Linked DNA regions of Homo sapiens: region 2 is linked to region 1. Evidence: promoter capture Hi-C in 16 types of primary human blood cells and fetal thymus (Javierre and others, 2016). All regions are on one chromosome and are shown on one strand. Each heading gives the region's core, a stretch centred on a gene start or on the middle of the fragment in contact. The rest is flanking DNA. Distances are from core to core; before and after follow the strand shown.

Region 1 (5,407 bases), core at 2,008-4,507:
CCAGTTCTCAAGGAAAAAAAAAAAACTGACCTGTAGTGTTTGCCAATTTCTGTGGTGTAAACACTCATCCCATGGCCAATTTCAAGCTACCAACATGCTGTCACTGAACTGAAGGAAGTTTTGGGAGGAGACGTACACTACCATACCATTATATAATATTTCCACTGTACAGATAACAATAGAAGTAAATTATCTCTGACCATACATGACAGTACAATGTAGTAAAACAATCAGGAAGTGATTATTTTGGAGGATTCCTTACCTTTGTTTTTAATATAATTTATTTATTGTAAGCAGATAATGTAGTTTTTTGAAACAATTGCTGTGTTTAACCACCAGGTTGCAAAATTCCTGAAAACGCAACAATCTGTGTTAAGCCAGTTCCAGCTCTCCACTGGGTGTATGCCTCGTGTGTCACAGCTGTATAACTGGGTCATATTGGAGGAGAATAGCCATGAGCCTGGATTGTAGCTGGATAAACAAAGCCTTGTGCAAATGTTGCTGGGTGTATCTCTCTGAACATACAAATGGGTTCTGTAGCCAGTAGTATCTCTGGTCTAAGTGTGCAGCTGTGAATATGCAGCTCCGGGCACAGCTGTGTCTATTTGGCTTTGTGGGATGACGCCTGTGTTATAAGATCTGAATGTATAAATGTGGCTGTTTGCTAAGTCTGTAGCATTGCATGTCTGGGTGTAGCTGTGCTGCGTGCATACGTGTGTGGCTGTCTTTGTGTATCATTCTATAACTATAATGGTCAATGTGGGTCATATGGGTCAGTATGCTTGTCATGTTGGTGTCAGTAGCCGTGTCTCATACGCAGTTAGGTTCAGTTGCTTGTTTAACTACTGTGTTGTGGCCACATGTTATAGCTATGTGTGTGTATGTAGCTGTGACCGTAGGCACTTGGTTGCATGTTTGAAGTTGCTTCTGTTAGTGCATGCTCAGAGGATGTGACAAAGCCTTAAGTGGCTGAGACTTCAGCAACCGGCAGTAAACCCCGGGCCTGAGCTGCAACGTGGAGGATCCGTCTTATTACAGGAAGTATGTCCTCCTCTGCCTAACCACTGCTGGGCGGGTCCACTTTCACTCCCAGAGCAGGCCCCACCTTTCTCGGCCAGACGCCCAGAGCTCCATGCCCACCCAGACACTGCCGAGAGCCCAGGCGCAGACGTGGCTGTAAACTGGCTCCATGCTGCAGGGACCCTGCGGCCAGACTTGCATCTTTTCAGGGGACAGCTCTGGGCACTTCCACAGGAATCCATCTCCAAAAGACACCATTTCCTCTTCCCATTTCACAGAAGAGGAAACTCGAGGTCCAGAAAGGGAAGGTTGAGTGGCTTTTGCCTAGGGCCATAAAAGGAGTGAGGGGGAGGCCAGGGCAGGTCCCGTCCTCTTCAGCCAGAGCTCTATCCCAAGCAGCCTGCCTCTCCTCCGGTCTCTAGGCGTCCCCACCCTACCCCTCTTACCCAGGGGCCCAGAATTTCTTTCCTGGCCCAAGCTTGGGGGTCAGTAAGGAGCTGGGCTGGGATAACCCGTCTATTTGAACTGGAATTTGGCTCAGAATCCCTGGCTGCGCTCTGCCAACCCCAGCTGAGAAAATGCTCCCCCAAGACTTGTGGCTCAGTTGTACTGAGGATTGTGGAGGAGTCTGGAACGGGGAGTGCATGGAGGTTGGGAGTGTCAGGTGAGAAGCTCCCAGCACTCTGCAGGTTTGTGCTGTATCTTTCTGTGTTGGACCTGGCTGCGTAGAAGCAGGTCTTGTTCGCCAGTTCTTAGCAAGCACAGGTCTGAGTCCTACTAAGGGCTTTACATCTCTGTCTCATCTCTCCAATCCTCACCGCTGCCAGCAGAGACAAGAATCCAGTGACATCCCTTCTCCAGAGGCAGATAATCTCATCTCTTTCTTACAGATGAAGAAACTGAGGCTCTGGCCTTTATATGGACACCAACTCATGACTGCCCAGTGTCCACTCTAGGGCTCCCTGCCACTTCATGGTTCCAGTGACCCTTCCCTGGGCCTTGGCTACTCTTCCTGGCTCTAAAACTTCCCTTAGTGTCTCTTCCTTTCCCAGGCTCCTAAGTGTCCTGGAAATGCAGGTGGCTGCAGCACATGGCTACGGATGGTGGGAGGAAGAGGACCCTGGAACAGGAACGGGAGGTGGGAAGGGCATGCTCACCAGGCTCCCTTTTTTTCCCTCCCAGGGTGAGCGCAGGCCCTCCAGGACCCAAGGCCAAATTTGCTCTGGCCAGGCGACCAGTCGGCCGCCAGCCCCAGGCAAAGATCACGGGGAAGATCAAACATTAACTTCCAGCTGGGTCTGCGCTCTGGCCAGGACCCTCCGGTAGGGCTGTCAGCCCTGCTCCCAACCTCCCGCCGAGCCCGCTCCTCCCTCCGCCCTCGCCCTCGCTGCACAGGCCTCCAGCCCGGCCCCCTTCCCCCGCCCCGCGGGCCCCCGCACCTGTTCGGCCCCCGCCCGTCCGGGCCGCACCCCAAGGCCAAGGAAAGGGAAAATTGCCAAAAGAACCGCTCCTGACGCACCAAGCGGTGGGGTCGCAGGATCCACGGCCTTTTACTTCTCTCCCGCAGACCCACTCCGGGGTGCAGGGATGCAGCTCAGTACCCCCGTCAGCCCAAGTTTCTCTGCCACTTCTCGGGCCACCCGGATTTGCCCCCCGCCCCGCCCCCGCCATCGCCGCCGCTCCCCGGGCTTTGCACACGCCAAGCCCTGGGACTCCCAAAGTCCTTTCCCACGTCCAGCTCTCTTCGCCCGCTTTCCTGGGCCCTGCACTAGCTGCCCAGGGTGAACCCTACACGTCCAAAGGGACGTGCACAAGTCGCGCCTCCGGGACCCGCACGATCCCCCTGGCGTCCTGGGCCACGCACACGCCCACCTCGAGGTGCTCAGCAAGGGTCCCCAAGGGGCCTTGGGCCCTGCACCAGCCGCTCCTCCCTCGGGTCCCCGAGTCCCGTACGCGCCCCCATGGCGCCCCGCCAGTACGTCCCCACCCCGGAATCCGGGGCTTGCCCGCGCCTCCCGGGGGCGGGGGCCGTGGCCCAAACTCTGCAGCCTCACCGTGTTCTTCCTGGCCACCATCTTCTCCAGCTTTTTGGCGATCCTCAGCAGCTCCTCTTCCTGGCCCATGTTGGCCCGCGACGCCCGGCGGGGCGAGGGGCACAGGGGCAGCAGTAGGGCCTCGGGGGCAGGAGGCGCGAAGGCGGAGGGCGCGCAACCCGCGCGGGCCCCAAACACACACGACACACACGCCCGGCGGGGGCGGGGCTCTCCCCACCCCCACCCCCCCACCGCCCGCCTCCCAACTGTGCGGGGGAGGGGTGGCGGGCACTAAATATAGACTTCAAGGACTTGCCCGGGCACTGATTGCCCGCGCCGGCCGATCGGGCCTCAGGGGAGGGACGAGGCTGAGAGAGGGGACCCTCCAACTCCGGCCCTTCCAGGGGCGCCGGGGGACCGAAGAGAGATTTGGGAAGGAGGGCTCTCTGGCGAGCTGGGAGGCTGTGACCTGGCCACAGGCGGCGGTCGCGGCGCGGAGGGCGCCCGAGGGTGTCCCAGGGGCCCTGGGAAGCGTTCTGGGCTCCCGCGTCTCTGCACCGTTGCATCTCAAAGCGGGAGGACACAGTTCCGCGCCTATGCCCAAGTGGAGGCAACTCGGTGCGCTCGAATCCCGTGTGTGTGTGTGTGTGTGTGTGTGTGTGTGTGTGTGTGTGTGTGTGTAGATCACTAAATCCAGCTCTGCTTTAACCTGCACTCACTCCATCGTGCACACGGCCTGTGCATGCCACGTGTATCCAGGCTCCTGTTTGCCTCTGTCTACCTAAAACTTCCTTTGCTGGCTGTTTTGTTAGTAAGGCTTTGCATTTTTAACAAGCTCCTATGTGCTGGGGGTGCTGCTGGTCCCAGAACTACACTCTCGAGTAGTGAGAGCTTATCGGGGAGATTCTTTTTATTTTTTTGAGACAGGGTCTCCCTCTGTGGCTGAGGCCAGAGTGGAGTGGAGCAATCAGGCTCACTGCCTCGACTTCCCCAGCTCAAGTGATCCTTTCTGCCTCAGCCTCCTGAGTAGCTAGGACTACAGGCGTGAGCCATCCATCATGCCCAGCTAATTTTTTAATTTTTTGTAAAGACTAGGTCTTACTACGTTGCCCAGGCTGGTCTGGAACTCCTGGTCTCAAGCGATCCGCCTGCCTTGGCCTCCCAAAGTGCTGTAATTACAGATGAGATTCTTTTTTTTTTTTTTTGAGACGCAGTCTCGCACTGTCGCCCAGGCTGGAGTGCAGTGCCACGATCTCGGCTCACTGCAAGCTCTGCCTCCCGGGTTCACACCATTCTCCTGCCTCAGCCTCCTGAGTAGCTGGGACTACAGGCGCCCGCCACCACGCCCGGCCAATTTTTTTGTATTTTTAGTAGAGATGGGGTTTCACCATGTTATCCGGAATAGTCTCGATCTCCTGACCCCGTGATCTGCCTGCCTCGGCCTCCCAAAGTGCTGGGATTACAGGCGTGAGCCACCGCACCCCGCCGAGATTCATTCTTAAGTGCACCAAATTTTGAGAAATATTGATCCAGGTGCAAGGCTGCCAGGTCAGGCCAGTATCCCCTCAGTGGGGTTGGGTTTGGAAGTCATCTTAGTGGAGGGGTGGAAACACAATTGTGCCTATCTTCCCCAGCCATGCAGGGATCTGCCTTCCTGTGGAATGATCTCCAATGATCTTCAAGTATCTCCTGCAGACCCAGTTCTCTTGCTAAATAAGTGAGTTTAATGGACAGAAAATGATCTTCCTGTGATGGGGGTGGGGCTCAGGAACCTGGAGGGAAGGCATGAAAAGTGGTCCACAGTGTGTGGGAGCTGGGGTTGGGGTGTCGAGTGAAATCTCCTGATTTTCCTGAGAGAACCGCATTTCAGCTTGGGTCGCAGAGGCAGCTTGGTGTGGACACCTATCTTCTAATTGCTATGTGACGGGGATCAAGGTAGGACAGAGTGGGTTTTTTTCATCCATTCAACAAATACGTATTGAGTGTCCAAGCAATGAACAAGACAGACCCAGTCCCAGAAAGCTTGAGACTCAGTCTATGGGCAAGAGAAACCTTAAACAAAAACAGACATAGTCAATTAATGCATTTATCATAGCTGGGGTGAAGGGCAGGAAGCAGTGGAGGATAGCTTAAGGACACATTTGAGGGGACCTGCACTATTTAGGGTGTCAACTTCTCTGAAGAAACGAAGTTTAAACTTTGGGCTGAAGTACACAGTGGCCGTTGAGGGGAGGAGGAAGAGTGTTCACGGAAGAAAGGAAGAGGCATTCAACATATATTTATGGAGCACCTAATATGTGCCAGGTAGTTCTTGTTCTGGACATCCAGAGAGGAACAAAACAGTCCTCCCCTCT
Region 2 (5,407 bases), core at 2,044-4,543, 220 kb after region 1:
ACTGACAGTGGAGGAGCAGTATCCAGGAGCTTGAGTAATGTGCCCAGGGTCACATGGCCAGTGAATATGAAGCCAGAATCACAACCCAGGGAGTTGTGACTCCCAGAAGGAGGGGACTGATGGGAAGCAGAGTGAAGGAGCAAAGGACTGATGGGGTGGCCATCAGGCTGGGAGTGGGGGACAAAGACGTCCAGCTGCCTGGCCGTCCCATGGCTGTCATCGTGTGTACGAGTGTGTATGTGTGCCAGGGAGAGAGAGTGTCTGAGAGTCTCGGTTGTCAAATCTTGGTGACATCCTGGTGGCATGGGTTGTCTGACTGTGGCTGAGCAATCTGGGTTGTTGAGGGGCCAGGAAGGCTTCTTCTCTCCCTCAAGAAGTCTGGGTCAACTTTGAGTCATCCTTCTGAGCACATCTTAAAAGTCACCTCTCCTGGGAAGCCCTCCTGGATTGCTAAAATGGGGTCGAATTCCCATGTTACACACTTGCAATGCTTCTCCTGCCAAGTAGTCATCATATGTATAAGTGGTTAAATATTTGTATTTACTCGGTAGAAGCCCTGTGTTCTGACCCAGTTGGAGCTGGTAGTGGGCAGGTGCCAGGAATTTAGATAAAACCAGATGTGCGGGGGCAGGTTGCAGAGGGAAACCCTGGCTCTGAACATTCATTGTTTCCTGAGCTCCAGGCTGCGGATTTTATTGAGAGAACGGAGACTGCTGGTGAACTCTCAAGAGGGTTAATTGGAGTTTTATCAAGCCAGATTTCATGGTGTCTGCTTAATGTTAATCTCTCCAAGCTTCCCACCAGACTGCAAAGGCTGAGGTGACTGCCTTGACTCTACTATGTCCCTAGAACTTAAAGCCCCGTGGGTGGTTCTTGCACTTGACAAACACATATTAAAGGAAAGAACGAATCGATGAAGCATGGGTTTGGGTGCCGGGCTGGGGAAACCAGGTTTGTGAGTGAGGGGATGAGGTGACAGGACCCAAGCAGGGCTGGCATGGGTGGCAGCGGAGAACCACAAGACCACGTGTGGTCACCTATGTGATGATGCCTCCTGGAGTTGTTCAGAGCAGTGCACAGCCTGTGGTAGGGGGCTGGCTTCCCTTAAACGCTGTTTGGGGAAGTACAGCCTGACAGTAGGTTTTCAGGAACTGGGAGGACCAGAAGGTGCCCTGATTCCCTTCCTCCCTGATCTCCCCTGGCACCAGCTCCTTGCTCAGCCTCCTCGCTTCTCTAATTTCTTGCAGCTGCAGTGTTCTGAATAGCAGTCCAGCTATGAGGGGAGGTGCCCGTGGCAGGCCTCAGCTGACCCTGGAGAGGCCATTAAGACCTGGCTGTCGCCTCCACAGCTGCTCGGAGGCAGGTGAGTCTGGTTCTCTGAGTCTCCCTCCTAGAGGTGGGCACTGAAGTCAGGCCCAGCGGATGGGAAGGAAAGAGGCCAGGGCTGGAGAAGCAGCCAGCGTTTCCCACTTCCTCCCCAACTGCCACTCCAGGTGGTGGCCCAGGTGACTGGGTCTCTTTGTCCTCCTCCCTCCCAGACACACTCTTGCCCTGGGTTTTCAGGAAAGTGGGGAGGCTAAGCAGCTCATCCCAGGCAGTTGGGCAAACCATCCCACCAGGTACCTGGCCAGATGCTGTCCCAGACACCTCCCTCCAGGCTGTCATCCTCCACATCACTGGGACTAGTAGTAAGGGAAATAGAAAGCTCCCCAACGCCCTCCACCTGCACCCCAGGCCTGATCCTGAGGCATGGCTGGCTCAGAGACAGTGACAGTGGGGTCAAAGGGTATGAGACAGATTCTCCATCTACCAGGAACAGGCAAGTGAGCCTCAGCCTCCTCGTCTGGAATGAGGGACAATAGTACCTATTTCACAGTAAAGTTTCTGGAACATAGGTGTTCAATAAATGACAGACGCTACCATCACAGATTACCAATGTTACAAAACTGTAAACAGAGAAAGGTGGCTTTGTAAGAAGAAAAGAGATCATTCTTTTTCCACCATGTGAGGACCCAGCAAGAGGGTGGCTGTCTGCAAACCCAGGGAGAGAGCCCTCACCAGGAATCTGCTGGCACCTTAATCTTGGACTTCCCAGCCTCCACAACTGTGAGGAATAAATGTATGTTGTTTAAGCCACCCAGTTTGTGGTATTTTGTTATAGCAGTCCTAGCTGACTAAAAAATACTGTCTCCTATAACCCATGAGTTTTGTTTCAAAGCACTTAACACAATCTATAGTTATACATCTACCTATGCAATTTATCTTTTTAAATTTTATTTTGTTTTATTATTTTTGGGGGATGGAGTCTCACTCAGTCACCCAGGCTGGAGTGCAGTGGCATGATCTCGGCTCACTGCAACTTTCGCCTCCTGAGTTCAAGCAATTCTCCTGTCTCAGCCTCTGAGTAGCTGGGATTATAGGTGTGTACCACCACGCCTGGCTAATTTTTGTATTTTTATTAGAGACGGGGTTTCACCATGTTGGCCAGGTTGCTCTCAAACTCCTAACCTCAAGTGATCCAGCTGCCTTGGCCTCCCAAAGTCCTGGGATTACAGGCATGAGCCACCGCACCTGGCCTGTGCAATTTATCTTTTTAAGTTTTTCCTGAAGTATAACAAACACAAAAACACACAAATCCTGTGTACAGCTCAATATACCTTCACAAAATGAACCCATCTGCATAACCTGCCTCTAGGTCAAGAAGTGAACATAACCAGCTCCCCAGAAGCCTCCTTGTGACGCCTCCTCATCGCTACCTCTCCCTGGAGGTAGCTATCATATAATTATTCATTTAGTTATCAATGTGGGTGTCATGTGTGTCCTCTATGGATTATTTTCTTAGGGCTGCTGTAACAAATTACTACAGCCTTGGTAGCTGAAAGCAACAGAAACTTATTCTCATGGTTCTTCCAGAAGTCTGAAATCAAGGTGGGCTGGGCGCGGTGGCTTATACCTATAATCCCAGCACTTTGGGAGGCTGAGGTGGGAGGATTGCTTGAGCCCAGGAGTTTGAGACCAGCCTGGGCAACATGGTGAAACACCATCTCTACGAAAAAATACAAAAAATAGCCAGCCTGTAGTCCCAACTACTTGGGGGGCTGAGGCAGGAGGATTGCTTGAGTCCGGGAGGTGGAGGTTGCAATGCGCTGAGATCACGCCACTGTACTCCAGCCTGGGTGATGGAGGGTCTAAGGGAAGATCCATTCCATGCCTTTCTCCTAACTTTTGGTGGCTGCTGGCAAAATCCTTGGCATTTTGTGGAGTGCCCCTGCCCTCCAGTCTCTGCTTCTGTCTTCACAAGGCCTTTTCGTCTGTGTCTCTGTGCACTCTTCTGTCTCTTATCAAGACACTCTCATTGGATTTCAGGCCCACCCTAATCCAGCATGATTTTATTTTGATACTTATCTTAATTACACCTGCAAAGACCCTGTTTTCTTTTTCTTTTTTTTTCTTTTCTTTTTTTTTTTTTTGAGATGGAGTCTCACTCTGTCGCCCAGGCTGGAGTGCAGTGGCACTATCTCGGCTCACTGCAAGCTCTGCCTCCCGGGTTCAGGCCATTCTCCTGCCTCAGCCTCCCAAGTAGCTGGGACTACAGGCGCCCGCCACCACGCCTGGCTAATTTTTTTGTATTTTTAGTAGAGACGGGGTTTCACCGTGTTGGCCAGGATGGTCTCGATCTCCTGACCTCGTGATCCACCCACCTCGGCCTCCCAAAGTGCTGGGATTACAGGCGTGAGCCACCACGTCCGGCCAACCCTGTTTTCAAGTAAGGTCATATTCTGAAGTTCTAGGTGGACATGCATTTTTGGGAGACACGCTTTCACCCACCGTACCCTACAAGATTGCAAGCCCCAGGAGGACAAGTGGTGTCACTCATCTTTGGATCCCCAGAACGAGCCTAGCCTCAGAACCTAGCCTGGCAGATAGGAGCTGCTCACAAAATGTGGGCTGAATAGATGAATTATCAGTACATCTTCACATCAGGAGAACCAATGCTGTGTACCTGACACATGGTGGGTAGTGAGTAATTGATTGACAAGTGAATGACATTTAGACATCAATTGAGAGTGACTGCAGAGTATAGAAATAATGATAGGATGGCTGGGCGTGATGGCCATGCCTGTAATCCCAGGACTTTGGGAGGCTAAGGCAGGTGGATCACTTGAGGTCAGGAGTTCAAGACCAGCCTGGCCAACATGGTGAAGCCCTATCTCTACTAAAAATACAAAAATTAGCCAGGCATGGTGGCACATGCCTGTAATCCCAGCTACTTGGGAGGCTGATGCAGGAGAATCACTTGAACCTGCGAGGCAGAGGTTGCAGTGAGCCGAGATCATGCCATTGCACTCCAGCCTGTGCAATGAGCAAAACTCTGTCTAATAAATAAATAAATAATGATAAGATGGCCAGGCACGGTGGCTCATGCCTGTAATCCCAGCACTTTGAGAGGCCGAGGCAGGTGGATCACTTGAGGTCAGGAGTTCAAGACCAGCCTGGCCAACATGGTGAAACCTCATCTCTATTAAAAACACAGAAATTAGCCTGATGTCATGGCAGGTGCCTGTTTCCAGCTACTTAGGAGGCTGAGGCAAGAGAATGTCTTGAACCTGGGAAGCTGAGGTTGCAGTGAGCAGAGATCATGCCACTGCACTCCAGTGTGGGTGACAGAGCAAGACTATCTCAAAAAAAAAAAAAAAAGGCCGGGCGTGGTGGCTTATGCCTGTAATCCCAGCACTTTGGGAGGCCAAGGCTGGCAGATCACCTGAGGTCAGGAGTTCGAGATCAGCCTGGGCAACATGGTGGAACCCCGTCTCTACAAAAAACACAAAAAATTAGCTGGGCGTGGTGGCACGTACCTGTAGTCCCAGCTACTCAGGAGTCTGAGACATGAGAATTACTTGAACCGGGGAGGCGGAGGTTGCAGTGAGCCGAGATCATGCCACTGCACTCTAGCCTGGGCAACAGAGTGAGACTCCATCTCAAAAAAATAAAAATAAAAATAAAAAAATAAAAAGAAATAATGAAGGTGCTGCTCACTGAGCACTTACTTTGGCCCCCCTGTATTCTCTGCATGGTTCTATTTAATCCCATTTTACAGAAAAGTAGGGGATCATGTGTCCCAGTTTGGATGGGACAGATCCAGTTGGCACCTATTGTCCCAGCATAGGGAGTATTTTATTCCCACTTTCCCATTCTAGTCTTAGAAGCGTACTGAGCTGGTCAATAAAGTACATGGTCACCCCATAGATAAGGCAATGGAGCCTTAAAAATTCCTAAAGGCAATAAATTCAGCACCTGATTTGCTTTCTTCTCAGAGACTCTAAAGCCTTTGCCCTTAACTGCTAGTGGTGCTGAGGGTGTTAATTAGGAGGGTTGTTGTTTTTTTGTCCTTGTTTTAGTTTTGGCA

What was found. Contacts are between HindIII fragments. The CHiCAGO score rates a contact against its expected background, and 5 or more counts as called.
Region 2: a fragment that was not itself captured here is called in contact with the fragment with the promoter of TCEA3 in region 1 in 1 of 17 cell types (naive CD8 T cells); the score reaches 5.0 in naive CD8 T cells.

The regions. Positions count from the first base shown.
Region 1 is chr1:23,421,491-23,426,897 of GRCh38, forward strand. It overlaps TCEA3 (transcription elongation factor A3), which reads right to left and starts at 3,258. Exons shown (of 11, transcript NM_003196.3): 1 at 3,075-3,258. The coding sequence starts at 3,143. It overlaps LOC124903875 (a long non-coding RNA gene), which reads left to right and starts at 3,376. Exons shown (of 3, transcript XR_007065535.1): 1 at 3,376-3,671; 2 at 4,688-4,770. The HindIII fragment of the contact is 3,577 bases long and covers 1,497-5,073 here.
Region 2 is chr1:23,638,433-23,643,839 of GRCh38, forward strand. MDS2 (myelodysplastic syndrome 2 translocation associated) reads left to right here. Exons shown (of 6, transcript NR_167910.1): 5 at 1,248-1,363; 6 at 1,896-2,136. Among named protein-coding and RNA genes, the nearest start is that of MDS2, 14 kb to the left of the region's middle. The HindIII fragment of the contact is 5,004 bases long and covers 792-5,407 here.